Linked DNA regions of Homo sapiens: region 2 is linked to region 1. The links are contacts of gene promoters, found by promoter capture Hi-C in blood cells and fetal thymus (Javierre and others, 2016). All regions are on one chromosome and are shown on one strand. The core of a region is centred on a gene start or on the middle of the fragment in contact, and the rest is flanking DNA. Distances in the headings are between cores, read along the strand shown. Region 1 holds the start of ZNF468 (zinc finger protein 468). Region 2 holds the start of ZNF772 (zinc finger protein 772).

Region 1 (5,923 bases), core at 703-3,202:
GGCCCCCTTCATTTGGAGTTGATGTTTCCAGATGGCTATCCTCAAACTTTGTGTTCCAATAAACTCTATAATTAATCGTGTATTCTGAATTTTATTATTTACTGCTGACGTCAGTTTCCGTCAGATTGTAGGAGCCTCACTAGAGAGGGCACCTGTCGCCATGTCGTAAAACTCACACTTGTCAAAAAGACGTGGGTTAATGTATTTCCCCTCCTTCTGCATGAAGCTAGTTAGCTGACACAGATGGTCACCTCCATTACCAAGTAGAGCCAGGATGAACTATGTGCGACCAAAGACTTGTCAAGTCCTCTTCCCTGAGGACTGATTAGTGTTTATCTTGAAAACATGTACTTAATGGGTTGTATAGAGCAGTGAAGTTTCTCTCTTTTCAACCTCTCAGCTCTTTGCCTGTATTTCCCAACACATTCTGGTCTAAGGCTTATTTACTAATAAAATGGTTTTTATTTCTTCCTGTTTTGTCATGAAGATGATTTCTCATTTTGGGGAAGATTTTTTAGTTTTCAATTGTATTTTTTCAACATTTAAAAAGCGAAGTAAAGAGTATTTCTTGGGCCAGGCACAGTGGCTCACGCCTGTAATCCCAGAACTTCGGGAGGCCGAGGCAGGCGGATCACTTGAAGTCAGGAGTTCGAGACCAGCCTGTCCAACATGATGAAACCCCGTCTGTACCCAAAATACAAAAATTAGCCGGGCATGGTGGGTGTGCCTGTAATGCCAGCTACTCCGGAGGCTGAGGCAGAAGAATCGCTTCAACCCAGGAGGCAGAGGCTGCAGTGAGCCGAGATGTCACCATTGTACTCCAGCCTGGGCGACAGAGAAATACTCAGTCTCAAAAAAAAAAAAAAAAAGAAGAAGAAGAAGAAAAAGAAAAAATGTAAATAAAAAGGAGAAAGTAACAGATCTCTTTTACAAATGTGCTGGGACAACTAACTGGATATCCATATGGAGAAGAGTAATGTTGTATTCCTATCTCACACAAGCAAATTTAGTTTGTTTATTTATTTTTAGAGAGGGAGTCTGGCTCTGTCGCCCAGGCTGGAGTGCAGTGGCTCGGTCTCGGCCCACTGCAAGCTCCACCTCCCATGTTCACCGCATTCTCCTGCCTCAGCCTCCTGAGTAGCTGGGACTACAGGCGCCCGCCACCACGCCCGGCTAATTTTTGTATTTTTAGTGGAGACGGGGTTTCATCGTGTAAGCCAGGATGGTCGCGATCTCCTGACCTCGTGATCCGCCCGCCTCAGCCTCCCAAAGTGCTGGGATTACAGGCGTGAGTCACCGTGCCCGGCCTAATAAAAATTTTATTTTAAAAATTTAAAAAAGAGAGAGACTGCGGGAGGGAATGTTACATTGTCGCGCAGGCTGTCCTGGACCCCCAGGCTGAGCGATCCTCCCGCCGCTGCTTCCTGAGTAGCTGGGACCTCAGGCTCCCACGCCCGCATCCCTGCTGTGTTTAAGCAGCAGGTGGTGACCTCACTCCTCCCTGGCCTGAGCACTCCGTCTGGCATCCCAGGCTGTGGCCCTAGGGATGTCTCTGAAGCTGAGCACTGGGTGGACTCTCCCTCCTGAGTGAATGGAGAATAGAAAGGGAGAAGATTTCTATACTGTCCTGTGGGCCATCAGCATGAAATCCTACGTTCCGCCCAGAAAGGGCTTTGCATTTTACATTCTAGTTTGCATCCTCCTTCCAGACTATTCCAGGGCTTTTGAATTATCCGTCTGCCTTCCTGGGGGCTCTCGCCGCCAAAACCCGGAGAACGGGTTGGGAGGAGGCTGAGAGATGCACAGGTCCCGCTCCGGCCCCGCCCTCTGCGGGTTCTAAAGGGCAAGGTCTCGCCGCTTCGCGCCCCGCCCACACCTCACCCGGGCCCCGCTCGCCTCCTCGTTGGCTCCACCCAGGCCTGGTTTCTGTCCTGCGCGCGCAGATTCGCGCAGACCAGGAAGTGGATCCCGTGGAATGACGGTCACGCCGCGGCGGGCGGTGAGTTTTGCTCTGTGTGGTGTTAAGTCTGAGCTTCCCAGGTCCCCGGCACTTCTGTACATGGGATGTGGGGTCCCCATAGACCTGGAAGTTCTCGCCTTTCTTCCTTCACTCAGAGCAAATGGAGATGTTCTACTGGGAGTCCGGAAGCCCCTTCTTTTTAGGTTTAAAGTCGCCCTGAGGCTGGTCCCGTCCCGGGTCTTTCTGCCATAGGGCAATGTATACGTTTCCTATCGCGTAGTTTTCCTGCTCAAAACCGTTTTTTGACTCCTTCCGCACGGCTCTTTTTAAAGTCCTCACCCTAGAGGTGTATTCCCACCCTGTGCGCCTCCCAGCCTTACTCTCCTGGGTTCCTGGAGCACAGCGCGGCGACCCCAGTCCCGGGAAGGCTGCGTTCTGTGGTCCTGGGATCCTGCGGATCCCACCCTTGTCCGAAGGCGTCGTCGCTCCCCACCTCCCTCCTCCTCTTGCTGGGCCCTGCTGCTCCCCAGATCTCCCCTCCGCAGTCACCGCGTCCCCTGAGCCCTCGTTGGAGAGGTGCCTGGGGCTTGTCCTGTGACGCGGGGTGTTCTTGCCCGCCCAGCTCCAGCACTTGGAAAATGCGCTTCTCCGAGATGCAGGCGTCTTACTCCAAACCCTCTTGTGATCGTGTGGGCCAAAGGGATCAGGAGACAGAGAGAGGGACTGAGAGAGCAGTAGAAAACCTGAGACAGAGAAAAGAAGAATGAGAAAGACCCATAACAGATGGCAAAGTAGAGGATGGGTGAGGGATTTGCCAAGAGACAGCAAAAGTGATAAAAGATAAGAAAGCAGGAGGAGAAAAGCAACTGGAGAAATGTAGAGAAAAGCTAGATGTACAGAGAGATGAAGGACAGCAAGGTAGGGAGAGGGGCAGAAATGTGGAGGCTCATCAGAGTGAGGGAGAGGAGGAGGGATGTGGAGCCGGGTCAGACAGAGCAGAGTGGTGCTGGTGGCAAGGAGAACAGAGGGAGAAGCACAGCGGGGAGGACACCTGGGGATCTGGGGTGCCAGATTGGGTCCAGGGGGTTATAACAGAGAAGAGAGAATTTAACAGGGAGAGCAGAGGAGGCGCATAGATGGGAGAAGAGGCAGAAATCTATGGAGATTGAGGACGATCTAAAGATTGGGGAGAAGGACCAACAGGAGGTTAAATAAGTTGCAAGGATGGAGCCCAGCTAATTTTTGTATTTCTAGTAGAGATAGGGTTTCACCATGTTGGCCAGGTTGGTCTCAAACTCCTGACCTCAGGTAATCCACCCACCTCCACCTCCCAAAGTGCTGGAATTACAGGTGTGAACCACCTCAGCTGTCCACCCATGTATTTCTTGATTGAAATAATTTGCTTATGTCTTGGTTCTACAGCTGACCCTGTTTCCCTGTTTTCAAGGTCAAGAGCTGTGTGTTTACACTGCTGCATTTTATAAATGTTAGTGTGATTTTCTTGTAAGGAAGAATTCAATGTTGGGAGTCAATTTCATCAGAACCTTTCAAAAGAATTTTCTTTAACCCAGGCATGTGAAAAATGCTTCTCTAATTTTAAGAATGGGATGATAAGACCAACCCATCCCATTAGCCCTTCCAGGCCCCCATGTAAGAATTCAGGCACACCTTCTCACTCATCTCAGACCTTCTCAGGGTAACTTCGTGAAAATGTTTCCAGCTCTGAGCCCCAGTGAACCTCCCTGCATCTTTGCGACGAAGGGCTAGACCAGAAAAGCTCAACCTGAGTGATCCTGACCCCTGAAATGATTGGCAAAATAGAGGCGGTGTCTGGGTGTGGCTTTTTTTCTGGTAGAGGAGAGTGCCCAGTTGTAATTAGAATTTTCAGTGGGATGCAGTACCCCAAAAATGAAAAAAAAAAAAGCAGAAGAATGGAAGAAACAGAGCGGTAGACTCAGAAACAGAGAGGATCTTTGGAGGCCTTTGTCTGTATTAGAATATCACAGCTACATCTAAAGCAGGTCATGTCAGTGCCTGGCAGGGAACCCTCCACCTGCTTCCCGTGTTCCCCAGGACAAAAGCCCGACTCTTCACTTTGGCTCCACAGCCCTGTGTTCAGGGTCCCTGCCAGTGTCCAGCCTCCTCCTGGGAGCTTACCCTCATCTGACTCCCTCTGCCCCAGTCACATTTGCTTTTCTCTTTTTTCAAACATCAAAATCCTTCCTGTCTCAGGTTGTTGTCCCTGCTCTTATTCAATGTTTCTAAATGAAGATGGCACTGTCCCTTTCTCCTTCAGGTCTAGGCTCAGAGCTGTCTCCCATGCCCTCCCACCCCCATCTGAAGTTCCCTCTACCCATCAGTGTCTATGGCATTACTCAAGTCTTCTTATCTCTGTGTCAATCCCATCAGAAATGCACTTTTTTTTTTTTTTTCAAACAGACTCTCACTCTGTCCTCCGGGCTGTGAGTGCAGTCTTGTGATCTTGGCTCACTGCAACCTGTATCTCCTGGGTTCAAGCAATTCTTGTGCCTCAGCCTCCCAAGTAGCTAAGATTACAGGTGTGTGCCACCACACCCTGCTAATTTTGTATTTGTATTTTATTTTATTTTTGAGTCTTACTCTGTCACCCAGGCAGGAGTGCAGTGGCGCGATCTCGGGTCGCGCAGGTTCAAGCAGTTCTCCTACCTCAGCCTCCCGAGTAGCTGGGATTAGAGATACCCACCAATCTCGGCTACTTTTTGTATTTTTAGTAGAGACAGGGTGTCACCATGTTGGCCAGGCTGCTCTTGAACTCCTGACCTCAAGTAATCCACCCACCTTGGCCTTTCAGAGTGCTAGTATTACAGGCATGAGCCAATGTGCCCGGCCCAATTTTTGTATTTTTAGTAGAGACAGGCTTTCACCATGTTGGCCAGGCTAGTCTCAAACTTTTGAGCTCAAATGATGCTTCCACATCAGCTTCCTAAGTAGCTGGGACCACAGACACACAGATGCGTACCACCATACCTGGCTAAGTTTTTGTATTTTTGGTAGAGATTTCCTGAAGGGGAGCTCATCCCAGCCCAGCTCCCCACTGCTGCAGCGTGTGTGTGGGCTTCTCCAGGAGGAGAGTGGGAGTTTTCCTGTAGGAATTTTTTGTTCATTGTGCAGTGGGCAGCAGAGGGGACCGTATTTCCCAGGGTGAGGTCTCCTATGTTTGTGTCATTGTGTTAAGGGAGGGGGTGTGTTGATTCTGAGTGATAAACAACATATTTTTAACATTCAGGATTGACTTCTAAAGACTGTTGGTACGTGAGAAAGAAACCCAGAAGAGGAAGAGGAAAGCAAAGGAGTCAGGGATGGCTCTTCCTCAGGTGAGATGATATCCTCGGTGGATTGTTCTGTCTCCTTCCTTTCAGATACCCTGGGCCTTGGAGTTGGGAATGTCTGGGTCTGAATGACCTGCCTGACATGTTTGCTCACCCTCACTTATGCCTTCCTTCAGTCCCTCTCATCTCGCTTAGGTTCCGTCTCTCGTGACCCAGTGTCATGAACTTGGGAAGAGGCTGCACTGGGCAGGTCCTGGGAAGGGCTCACACCCCGACATGGATGGACACGGGGTGAGGGTCCTGTGGTGTCAGTGCTCTTGGGCAGCAGGGATTGTTCAGGGGCCACATCTGGATGCACTGTCAGCTCACTGTGGACCAGGATTGGAGCAGCTGCCAATGGGAGTCACGTATTAATATGCACGAAGTACGTGGTAAGTTCTAGAAAAGGAGACCAATAAGGGAAAATCTTTTCTCCCTGATTTTATACCACATTTTTAGGTAATGGAGTGAGTTACTGTGTTTCTGACTCCAAAAATCTTACTAATTAGAATGGAAAGTTCATACATAGACATGAATAATTCATGAATCATTCCTTCATTATTATTATTTTTTGAGATGGAGTTTCGCTCTGTTACCCAGGCTGGAGTGCAATGGC
Region 2 (6,058 bases), core at 3,234-5,733, 4.6 Mb before region 1:
TTTCATTGCCATATGACATTTGATGAATTCTGTCTTTTCAGACACTTGTAAAACACTTAAAATATTGAATACATCTCTGTATATGGAGTATGAAATACTATCTTGAACAAGAGTATTACTTGTTGGGTTTGACACAATCACTGCTGTATAAGCAGGATAAATATTTTCTGAGGTAACAGACAGAAGGGTTATTCACTTACTTCAAGGCCACCAAACATCCCCACTCCACGTTCCACATCATGGTGTCTGGAGTCTTTTCTTTCTTGTGCCTGACAGAAAATGCTGAGGCTCGCCAAACTAACTCTGGAGCATCAGGCTACACGCATTTGAAAACAATATTTGTTAACTTCCAGCCATAGAAATCTGAGTGACGTCAGTGTATGGTGTGTCCATTTTATTTTTTGATGAGCATTCTCTGCGTAAGGAAGGCTGAAATCATGTCTCTAAACATTCCTTTGATGTCAAACACGACGTTCACCAGAAATACAGATATGGCTCCTTCAAGAGGAAGCTAAGCTCCGTCTGGGCCTTGGAGACGAGGGACACCATTTCCACGCGCCCCTGGCGGTCTTCTCTGGGCTTTTAACCTGGAGGTGAAGCGAGACGCCGCTTACTAGTGTTGGTGCCGTGGGAACTACATTACCCAGGAAACTTGGCGGCTCTGGGCCAATGAAAACCCAGGAAATAGGCGTTTCCGTTGGTCCTCACCAACGTCAGGGCGGGACTTCCTCTACCATCCTCGGGTGGACATTTTGTTTGCTTTTCCATTAATCCACTGGTTTAGTTTCCAGAACGCAATGTCAGACCTGAGGTGACAGAAAAGGGAAAACGTGAGAGAGTGTCTTCTTCCCTGAAGAGAGGTGGGCCTGAGGCTTGACAGTGGCGCTGCCTGAGTGACCTAGCCGCTGGGCTGGGCCCTGGACAGCTGATCCCAGGTTCCTGCACTTGTCGCCACCCTTCCGTAGTCCACAGGCCTGATGGCGGCGGCTGAGCCGATGGGCCCGGCACAGGTGGGTGCTGCGTCTGCGAGTCTGCGCGCTGACCCCCATCTCTGAATCCCAAAGCTTCGAATGAACGATTCCTCGGGTTACTGCAGCTCAGGCCCCTGTATCTAGAACAGTGGGGGCGCTCGTGTTTGGGACCCATTTTGACAGCACGAGTTGAAGGACGTTCCAGGCAGAGAGACCAGTGTATGCAAAGGCTCAGAGATGGTTCACAGCTGGAGCATTTGGGAAAACTGGGCCTTTAGTGTCTGAAAGGATCAGAGCGCTTTATAAGTGATTGCACCTGGAATATCATCCTGAGCAGCTGGGTCTCTATTCTGAGGGTGATGGGAGCCATGGAAGGTTCTGAACAGAGGAGAGCCAGAATCCGAGGGTTTAAAAAGTATTCCATAGACTGCTCATGGAGGGCAGACTCTTGTTGGCCATGGGGGCGGATAATGAGCACTGTTCCGAGCTAACACAGTTAAGAGGTATCCTTGAAGATGGAAGCACAGAGGGTAGACATTCAGCTCCCAGGCACATTGTAACTGGGTAGGAATATGGGATGGGGTTGAGCCTTTGGGGTTCCTTCAAGATTGCTTGACTCGCATAGTCTCCCTCTTCCCCACAGGTTCCCATGAACTCAGAAGTAATTGTGGACCCTATACAGGTGAGGGGAGAATGTCCATGCTCTCACCGATCCCACCCCCACCCAATACGCTCTCCAGCATTGTGGTGTTATATAGAACACTCTCCTGCTACTCTCCGATCTCTTGGGTCTGAGGACTCTGGAGAAGCCCCAAGCCCAGGGTCCTGACTCCGGGCCAGGGGTTTTATGGAGGGGTTTCCATTTCTGCCAACCATTGGAATAAGGTTGGAAGGTTGTTCCAGGCACAGGAACCAGCCTGTGCAAAATACTTAGAGGTGAGACTGAGAAGGGAGTTTTCAAGAAATTGCAGGTCTCTGTCATGTCTGGTGGGAACCAAGAGCAAGGGGGCGGGAATCATCCTGAAATGGCTTAAAGATGATTATGTAGATTGGGAGTTAAAAGAGAATATTCATTTCACAGTGGTAGTGCATTTAGTGAGCCAGGAAAGTGATGGTGGAGAGCCAGAGTTGTGAGATAACTGTGATCCAAAGAGTGATGTACATATGGAAAGAAGTGTAGACTGATGACGTCTGGGCTTAAAGGAGAAAGGCAAGCCCATCTTTGGTTGTCTGGTAAGCATGATGTTAGTGACCCCAGAGGAATTTGCTTACAGAAGGGTGAGGCCCTGTATGCTAAGCACAGAGCTTAGAGGGTGACAACTTCTTCACCTGCCTGTGGTTGCTATGGGTAGACACAGTGATCCATTGGGACCATGAGGCGAGAGAAGACACCAATGACATCTGGTCCTGATATTTCCTGAGTTGAGGAGTTAGGTAGGAGGGTGTACAGGAGGGAGATGTGTGGGGGCACGGATGGGGGTTCTTGGGAGAGATGCTGCTCATGGACTTGGCTCTCCTGATTGTGGCAGGGGCAGGTGAACTTTGAGGACGTGTTCGTGTACTTCTCCCAGGAGGAGTGGGTGCTCCTTGATGAGGCTCAGAGGCTCCTGTACCGTGATGTGATGCTGGAGAACTTTGCACTTATGGCCTCTCTGGGTAAGGCCGTCACATCCACCCCAGTGACTTGGACTGGGTCCTGCCCTTCCCCTTTTTTTCAGGGCATCTTTGTCCTTCCTACATCAGAGCCGTGGACACTGTCTCATTTCTTAGTGCCTGGAGTAGGTTCTGTGAGTGCTGGGCTTGGGCTGTTTGCACTCCTACTTTCTCCTTTTGAGCATTCCCAGCGCTTGCTGTCTCAGAGCCTTGCAGGCATGGATTCAGGAGTTATGCATTGTATTGTCAGCCCAGTGGGTCATATCCATCTTGTCCTTTCCCTGTCTGAATTCCTCTGTCTGTATCCATGACACCTCTGTGCCTGGGATTCTGCGCTCTTCCTTTAGCTGACATTTCCTGTGGCCTGCCTATGTCAGGAATTGTAGGGACCATTATGGTCGCTACTTGCTAGGACCACTGCACTATTCCTGCAAGACCTTACTCTGAGATTATTTTAATAATATTTAGTTTTCTATATGGGTTACCCAGACCAGTGCTGTTCTATCTTTCCCTTAGGACATACATCTTTCATGTCCCACATAGTTGCCTCACTGGTGATGGGTAGTGAGCCCTGGGTACCTGACTGGGTGGACATGACCCTAGCTGTTGCCACAGAGACTCCAGGTGGGAGTGACCCTGGTGAGTAGGAGCTGGGGAAAGGTGTGATGTCAGGGCTGGGTTCATATCATTCCATAGCCTCTTTGTGCCTACAGTTGTATTAGTGCTAAGGCCACTGGCCTTTCATACTCTGGCCTTTGGCCTCTGGATGTTCCATACCTCTGCCTTCATGTCTCACCTGTTCCTCTCCATGGCTTGTTCTACAGTGCCTTCCAGCATTGGCCTGTACTTAGTGTTTCATGAGATGTGTAGCCCAAATAGTCCTTAAACACCAACTACTGAGTAGCAATTTGATTTTCTTTGGTATGGACCATAACCTTCTGCACAACTCTCACCTGTCCCCAGCAGCCAAGAAAATCTGATTGTGAATGACTTTGAGACCTGCCTCTTTTTTGTGCTGTACCCCACATCTTTGTCCTCTCCCAGTTGAGGCCTTCTCCATTCTATGACATTTAGATGCCAACTACCGTATAGTACACATTTGCTGAACTTGAGTTTGGACCCTTGTCCTAACAACAGTCCTATGACCTTGGTCTTAGTTGTGTTAGACACATATTTGTAGTGAGGCTTCCCCTCTTCCACCTGTGTCAATTTGTACTTCACCAGCATTTCTCTGCTTTCAGGTTGTTGGCATGGAATGGAGGATGAAGAGATACCTTTTGAGCAGAGCTTTTCTATAGGAATGTCACAGATCAGGATTCCCAAGGGAGGTCCTTCTACTCAGAAGGCTTACCCCTGTGGGACATGTGGCCTGGTCTTAAAAGACATTTTGCACTTGGCTGAGCACCAGGAAACACACCCAGGGCAGAAACCATACATGTGTGTGCTGTGTGGGAAACAGTTCTGCTTCAGTGCAAACCTTCACCAGCACCAGAAGCAGCACAGTGGAGAGAAACCCTTTAGAAGTGATAAGAGCAGGCCCTTTCTTCTGAACAACTGTGCTGTGCAATCAATGGAGATGTCTTTTGTGACAGGGGAGGCTTGTAAGGACTTCCTAGCCAGCTCAAGCATTTTCGAGCACCATGCCCCTCACAATGAGTGGAAGCCACACAGCAACACCAAGTGTGAGGAGGCCTCTCACTGTGGAAAAAGGCATTACAAATGCAGTGAATGTGGGAAAACCTTCAGCCGCAAAGACTCACTTGTTCAACACCAGAGAGTCCACACTGGAGAAAGGCCTTATGAGTGCGGTGAATGTGGGAAAACCTTTAGCCGCAAACCCATACTTGCTCAGCACCAGAGAATCCACACTGGAGAAATGCCTTATGAGTGTGGCATATGTGGGAAAGTTTTTAATCATAGCTCTAACCTTATTGTACATCAAAGAGTACACACTGGAGCAAGGCCTTACAAGTGCAGTGAATGTGGGAAAGCCTATAGTCACAAATCTACACTTGTTCAGCATGAGAGTATCCATACTGGAGAAAGGCCATATGAGTGCAGCGAATGTGGAAAATACTTTGGTCACAAATACAGACTCATTAAACATTGGAGTGTTCATACTGGAGCAAGGCCTTATGAGTGCATCGCATGTGGGAAGTTCTTTAGCCAAAGCTCTGACCTTATTGCACATCAAAGAGTTCATAATGGTGAAAAGCCTTATGTGTGCAGTGAATGTGGAAAAGCCTTTAGCCACAAACATGTACTTGTTCAGCATCATAGAATTCACACTGGAGAAAGGCCATATAAGTGCAGTGAATGTGGGAAGGCCTTCAGGCAGAGGGCTTCCCTCATCCGCCACTGGAAAATTCACACTGGAGAAAGGCCTTAGGATGGGAGATAATTCCGTTTCCTTGTTCAACATAATAACTGACATCAGAGAGAAGCTCCAAGCATAGCCTTTATGTGTAGCCGACAGCCAGAAGTAGAACTTTATACACTCAAACACTCACCCTGGGGAGGTTCTTCCGAGTGCCAGCTATATGGGAAGCCTTCTGGAGCTATGCTGAATTTTCTAGACTCTTGCTGGAATTTCGTCAAGGCAGTGCCTGTTAGAAGCCATCTGTCTTTGTGCTGGAAGAGTCCTGCCTTGTGCCAAAGTAACCCCAATGTGTTTCAAAAGACAGACCTCTGTACTATTCCCTTCCCTGGAGGGAATCATCAGTAGCCTGAGGCCATCAAGGATTCTCACTTTTTTTCTGCCCCACTACTGGTTTAAGCATGAGCATGACCCAGTTTTAGCCAGAAAAATGGGAGCTTTGTTCTGCTGACCACTGGCAGAGGTTTCCCTTCATGGATATAGTTGATCTCACATGGCACTTGGGACGAATTTTTCTAGCCTTCAAGACACCTGACCTGAAATTGGCTGCCTCATATTCTGGTTTTGCAACAAATGCCTTAATTTTTAGACTATCTGAAATCTTGAGGATTCTGTTCGCTTTGTGGGTTGGGTTGAGAACAGAATTGAGCTAAGCCAGTATGAAGGGAAGAACAGCTTTTGTGAGAGCTCCAACTATCTGTATCTCTGAAGTGATAGTAGGATGGCAAAGACTAGCTCTTATGCTAGTGTCAAGCTAACTTACTTGACTGCTTCAGCTCTCCTAGGAAAGAATGCCAGTCTTTGTAGGCCTAATCTTTTGGTCTATATGTTAAGATTTTTTGTGTAATTGAGGTCACCCTAAGCAGTGGGCATTTGTTGTGATAATCTCTAATGTGTCTGGGAGCAACATGAATTACGTCCCTTGTTCCCAGAAGATACTTCATATTCCCAAGGCTTCTTGAGGAGAATTTGAACTCAGTGGACATGTCAAGATCTCTGAAGTCTATTTTTCAGTAGGCAGTTGATATTGGCTGTCCTCCAGAAGGCCCAGGTAGGA

The links. The method cuts DNA at HindIII sites, captures the fragments that hold promoters and counts their contacts. A CHiCAGO score of 5 or more calls a contact.
Region 2: a contact is called between a fragment that was not itself captured here and the fragment with the promoter of ZNF468 in region 1, in 1 of 17 cell types (total CD4 T cells). The highest score is 5.0, in total CD4 T cells.

What each region holds. Positions count from the first base shown.
Region 1 is chr19:52,853,648-52,859,570 of GRCh38, reverse strand. ZNF468 (zinc finger protein 468) reads left to right here and starts at 1,952. Exons shown (of 4, transcript NM_001008801.2): 1 at 1,952-1,999; 2 at 5,226-5,313. The coding sequence starts at 5,299. It also overlaps a transcript of ZNF320 not described here. RefSeq lists an enhancer at 2,274-2,353. The HindIII fragment of the contact is 10,660 bases long and covers 1-5,923 here.
Region 2 is chr19:57,472,229-57,478,286 of GRCh38, reverse strand. It overlaps ZNF772 (zinc finger protein 772), which reads left to right and starts at 721. Exons shown (of 4, transcript NM_001144068.2): 1 at 721-1,010; 2 at 1,615-1,653; 3 at 2,501-2,627; 4 at 3,866-6,058. The coding sequence starts at 978. The coding sequence ends at 5,013. RefSeq lists enhancers at 207-1,406, 997-1,520. The HindIII fragment of the contact is 6,834 bases long and covers 1,067-6,058 here.